Regions from separate parts of the Homo sapiens genome. Here region 1 is linked to region 2. The links are contacts of gene promoters, found by promoter capture Hi-C in blood cells and fetal thymus (Javierre and others, 2016). All regions are on one chromosome and are shown on one strand. Each heading gives the region's core, a stretch centred on a gene start or on the middle of the fragment in contact. The rest is flanking DNA. Distances are from core to core; before and after follow the strand shown.

What was found. The method cuts DNA at HindIII sites, captures the fragments that hold promoters and counts their contacts. A CHiCAGO score of 5 or more calls a contact.
Region 1: a contact is called between a fragment that was not itself captured here and the fragment with the promoter of CXCL12 in region 2, in 1 of 17 cell types (neutrophils). The highest score is 5.1, in neutrophils.

Annotation. Positions count from the first base shown.
Region 1 is chr10:43,808,054-43,810,753 of GRCh38, reverse strand. All of the region lies in intron 2 of LOC105378275 (a long non-coding RNA gene), which reads right to left. Among named protein-coding and RNA genes, the nearest start is that of LINC02658, 31 kb to the right of the region's middle. The HindIII fragment of the contact is 1,837 bases long and covers 383-2,219 here.
Region 2 is chr10:44,383,665-44,386,364 of GRCh38, reverse strand. CXCL12 (C-X-C motif chemokine ligand 12) reads left to right here and starts at 1,268. Exons shown (of 3, transcript NM_199168.4): 1 at 1,268-1,420. The coding sequence starts at 1,360. RefSeq lists enhancers at 1,633-2,324, 2,325-2,700. The HindIII fragment of the contact is 14,357 bases long and covers 1-2,700 here.

The sequences.
Region 1 (2,700 bases), core at 52-2,551, 580 kb after region 2:
TTAAAAACTGTTGATCATTTGGAAATCATTAAGATTTTAACTCCTTCACCAGTTCATTGCTGTATGAGGAGTGGAACACACACTGTGCTATAGCACGCTTTGGGCACACTTCTTGCCCTCCCCACGTTCATGCCCTATGTACCTTTGCAATACTCTCCCCTGGGGCAGGGAATAATTATAATCCTCTGATCATCCAACACAATGTGAAGATAATAAAAATTAATTTCAAAAACAAAATTGCACATTTGGAAAAGATGCAGGATTTCATGAGTTCACAAGAAATGTCAGGGCCTGTCTGATCACATCACACCTTCCACCTGTGACTGACTCAGACCAGTCACCAAAGAGTTAAGAAAGGCTCTTGACAACATTGTTGAAAGCTTCTAATGCTTTTGCAAAAATAACAGGCTTTTTAATTTGCTGGGAAGGGGTGCTCTTGTACCACTAGCCTTGAGCTGTGCCCATGATAATCTATAAGAAAATAAGTTATAGATCACAACAGATCAACACATATTTTTTTAAATGATCAATTTTATCACAGCTCAGTGGTAAGTTTATAGAACAAAAAAAAAAGAGTGTCACTTGATAATGAGAAGAAACCTTAAAAGAACAAATGTTAAAGGGCAAACAACCCCCTCCTCCACCACACAGACACACACACACGTATACAGACAATCCTTAAATTCAAAGGCAGTCACTTGCCTCTTTCCTCTAGGAAAATCTAACTTAATCCCTTCAATGATCCCAGGTCTTCAAAAACAAAACCCTGGATTAACACCCTGAATTTAAAATCTGGGTGTCTTGAATGTCTTTGAAAGTACAATCTCAAAAAGCAAAGAAAAAATTTTCAGGTGGGAGAGGAAAAAAAAATACCTACAACAGAGAGAAGAAAACACATAATATCCCAATAAAATATCTTGGCACCTGTATGCTTGGCTGTACATGCACCTGTGTTGTACATGCACACATGTCCATGGGTTACCCTGGCCCCAACTTACACGGGGAAGGTAACTGTATGACCTATCCACACATCTGGCTGCTTCTACCCCAGCTAACTGACAAATACTCCCAAATATTTTGCTATTGGTTGATTTGACAGCCACTCTGGAATAGTTGGTTGGCAAGAGGTTTTAAAGCAACAGAAAACCCAAGGTTGGATGGATTTGCCATCCCCTCCACTTAGGTAAAATGGCTTCCAGTAAGGGGTTGTGCCAGTATTGGCTGCTAGCTAATTTAAGGTCCAATGGAAAATGAAAATAAACAAGTATTAATCCTGAGAACCTTTTTGTGGAGTTATGAAAACAGTCTGTTATAAAACGCATCCAGATGTCAGCCAAGAGTGAGTCAATTGGAATAATAGCTTCAAGTGAAACCAGCAAAGGGCAGCAGGTCAGGCTGTGGGGATTCTGAGGAATGCCCACTCACAGACCCAGGAGCGCACCGCTGCACACCAGCCTGGAGCCTCGCCCACGACACAGAATTCTGTTAAACGATCTATAAAAAGAATTTATGGATCCCATGGACCAACATCGATTTTTTTAAATTAATTTTGTCACAGCTTAAGGGCAGGTTTATAGAAGACCAAGACAAAAAAAAAAGCGTCATTTGATAATGAGAAGAAACTTTAAAAGAGCAACATTTTATTTGACAATTATTAAATTTTTATACCAGTGAAAACAGTTTAATTTTATAAAGACCTATAAAACAATCTCCTGTTGATACACTAGCCCTGTTCTTCAAAAACACATGCCTGAGGATATTTACTGGAACATTTAATATTAAGACCTCTGAAGTAATCTACAAGTCAATCTGTGGAATATTGGTTAAACAAATGATGGTACACTTCTACAGTAGAACCAAATGCAAGTGTTTCTTAATTAATTAATTTTTTATTTATAATTGAAAAAATGCAAATGTTGAAAAGGGTGATAGACCTCCTTGACAACTGCTGTGAAATCATGTCTAGCATAAATTAAGTAGGAAAAAGCAAGTAACAGAGCATTAAACATCATTATTCAGCCATCTTTGCATAAATCAGTCTATCAATCTATGTTTCTCTGATTGTCTATGCAGGAAAAGTTCTAGAAAGAAGCCAATGTTCATGATGGCCACCTCTGAGGAGTGTAGGAGCTGAGGGCAGAGGAGCTTTTCCTTTTTGTGTTGTAGTTTTCTATACTGCTTTAATTTTTCACGTTAGCATGTATTGTTTTTGTAAAGCTTTTTAATTAATTGGTTTAAAAGAGAAGGGGAGGGAAAGGCAAAAGAGCAAGCGGCCTGTTGGAGTGGAAAGCTAACTAATGGGGCATTGGCAATCTGGTTCTTAAAAGGAAATGGGACTCCTATGAAAATACAGAAAACCTCTGAAAATGCAGGAAGTCCAACAGTCACCACAAGGGAAACAGTTTTACCCACTGTGTTTTCTCAAATGAGTGAGCAATTGCCTAAAAATACTACACTGTGTGGTTGCATGTGTTCAGTCCCCACTCAGGATCCTGATAGCATCTCAATTACCTGATGCCAACTTCACTTTAACATTGACTTTTTATTTTAAAAACAAATTGCTGATCTTTGTCCGTGGAAAAGCTGTGAAGTATTTCGGTCCCTGCCACCTATCTGGAGGCCTCATGAGCTGCCACTGGAAACCTGTGGCTGTCAAGGACCATGAGATTTCCAGGTGCAATGTGGGGATAGAAACTCCTA
Region 2 (2,700 bases), core at 19-2,518:
CCGACGGCCAGGACTCCCCAGGGACAGGGACGTGTCCCCAGGGCAGGCCCCTGGATGGACGCGGCGACTGACCCCACTTCGCTGGACGCTGTGCTGGGAAGGACACAGAGAGGTGGCTGGGGCAGCCTGCGGTCACAAAGCGAGGCCCAAAGGGGCGCTCTCCTCACCCCCACGTCTCCTGGGTGCCGACCTGCACCCTCCCTTCGCCACCGGACTGGGGCCATCTGGGATGTCTCGGGGGTATCCGGAGGGCTAAGCACCGCCGAGGGACGGCTCCGTGGGAAGAGTTTTCTGGACCCAGAAGGCAGACGCCAGTAGTACTGTCCTAGGAGTCGGAGGTCGGGGTGGGGGAGTTCTCAGCTCTTTGGGTCGCACGGAGCTTTTCTTGGGTAAGGCAGTAAGTACTTAGGTTTAAAGGACTTACTTACAGCTACCATTTATTGAGTACTGTCTGCTTGTCAGACACGATGCAGAGAATTTCGCGGCGTGGGGCGGGTCTCATTGAATCTCCCGTCCCACTCCGCGGGGTGGGCCTGTGATTAGCTCATTTCACCATTGAGAGGTCGGAAGTACAAAGGCTACATTCGCTTTTACTGAGAGCCGCCGGCGCCTTCTGCTTTGTTTGTACAGGCGAGGAAACTGAGGCTCGGCTGGTGGCGCCGTGGGCTTGGAGTCCGAGCCACGCTGACTGCAAAGACGGGTCTCATTCCCGCAGATCGAGCTCTGCCGGCGGCTGCGCCGCAAGCCGGGCAGGTGGCGAGCTTGAGCCCCCACGCACAGAAAGCAGGACCCCCTCGGCTGCCTTGGGCCGCCACCGCCAGCAGGCCCTCCGCCCGGGACTAACTTGTTTGCTTTTCATTGGTTCTCATTCAGTTCCCGCCATCGAAAGGCCCCGTCCCGCAGCTTTCCACGCGCGCCCCACTTTACGCCTAAGGTCCTCAGTCTCTCCAGTGGGGCCCTGTCACAGGGACAATAAGCGGCCCTCCAGCCGGCGTCGCTCAGGCTGCGGACCTCACTGCAGACCGGGCCAGCGGTGCGGGGCCCAGCGGAGCCTGAGAAGGTCAAAGGCCGGAGCGCACTGCGCCTCGGGAGCACAGAGGGAGCGGAGGAGGGGCGAAGGGGATGGGTGGGGGGTGCCGCCGAGGGAGTCGCGCGTCAGAGACCCCGGCCACGGCCAGCACTCGGCTCCGGGCCCGCCCCTCACCGCGCGCCCCGCCCCGCCCCGCCTGGCTCTCCCCTCTAAAGCGCCCGGCGCGCGCCTCCCACCGCCGCACTTTCACTCTCCGTCAGCCGCATTGCCCGCTCGGCGTCCGGCCCCCGACCCGCGCTCGTCCGCCCGCCCGCCCGCCCGCCCGCGCCATGAACGCCAAGGTCGTGGTCGTGCTGGTCCTCGTGCTGACCGCGCTCTGCCTCAGCGACGGTAAGTGCGCTCGGCGGGGAGGCCCTGGCGAGGCTCTGGGCTTCGGCTCCCGCCCGGCGCAGAGCCGCGGCTCCTCTGCCTGCGCCCGCAGTTTGCGCCGCCCGACACAGTGGGGGTGGAGGCAGCTCGCTTAGCTGGGCGCTCTGGTGCGGTGTCGCGTTCAAAGCCCTACTTTTGCGCCGAGGGTTTGTGACCTGCAGAGAGCGACCGCCTGACCTCAAGCTGGCTGCAGAGCGAGGTCAGCCGGGACAACTGGGCAGGAACGCCCCAAGAGAGCGTTCGGGACTGGCGCGGGAAGGCGCGAGGGTGGGGAGCCGCGGACCCCAGACCCCTGCCTGCCCACCCTCCACCCACTGCCTTCCCGCTGCGGGCTCGGTTTCCACAGGCGAATGGGCTCCGAGGTCCTGCTGCGCACAGTGCTGGAGGTCGGGCGGTGCATGGCGAGAGCGCGCTTTGCAAAGTTCGCCTCATGCCGCGACTTGAGGCTGTGAGGTCCGATGCAGCCGCGCAGCCTCCGCTCCCTGCGAAGCCGATCCTCTCCCCACACCCTCGCGGGGCTCTTGGCCAGGCGCGGGCGGGCTGCGCGGCGCAGCTGTCGGGCTTGTGCCACCCGCCAGGCCGCGCTTCTGCACAGCTCCGCGGTCCGCAGCGACGCGGACCTGGGCGCGCGTCCAGCCGCTGTCTTCCTGTCTCTTCTCGGGTTCACCTGAGAGAGGCCCAGGGACCCTCCGAGCCTCACACGCCCCCTCCCCAGCTCCCCAAACACACCTGCAGACAGGCTCTTTTGTCACCAGCTGGCCAAGCGCTTTGCCCCAGAATGAGAGCTGCAGCAAAGTTCAATCTCCAAGGCCCTGGGCCACTGGGAACCGTGGTGTCCCGTTTCACTGGGAGAGGGCTTTTTTCTTTTCTTTCGCTGAAGAGAAACTCGCTGCGCTGTCACAGGACACCGATGCAAACCAAAATAAACTGTTGCCTCTGAACACACAAAACAAAACCCTGTGGCTCAGGCCGCTGAGCTTCCTTGGCTGTGAAGTTTCCTGCAAAGAGTTGAAGGACACTCTGAGTGCTCTTGCAGCCGCGGGCTGTGCAGGCCCAGCGCGCCTCGAGCCCTTGGCTGGGTTGGTGCAGACGTGGCCCCGGCGTCCTAGCTGGCTTGGACTGTGCGCTGGTGTGAGCAGGACCAGCGCAGCTGAGTCGGGCTGGAGAAGCTGGGCAGCCTGGGGTCGTGGCGGACTGCCTAAGTGTTAAGGACACAGACTGAAGGCAATTGGGAATGTTCG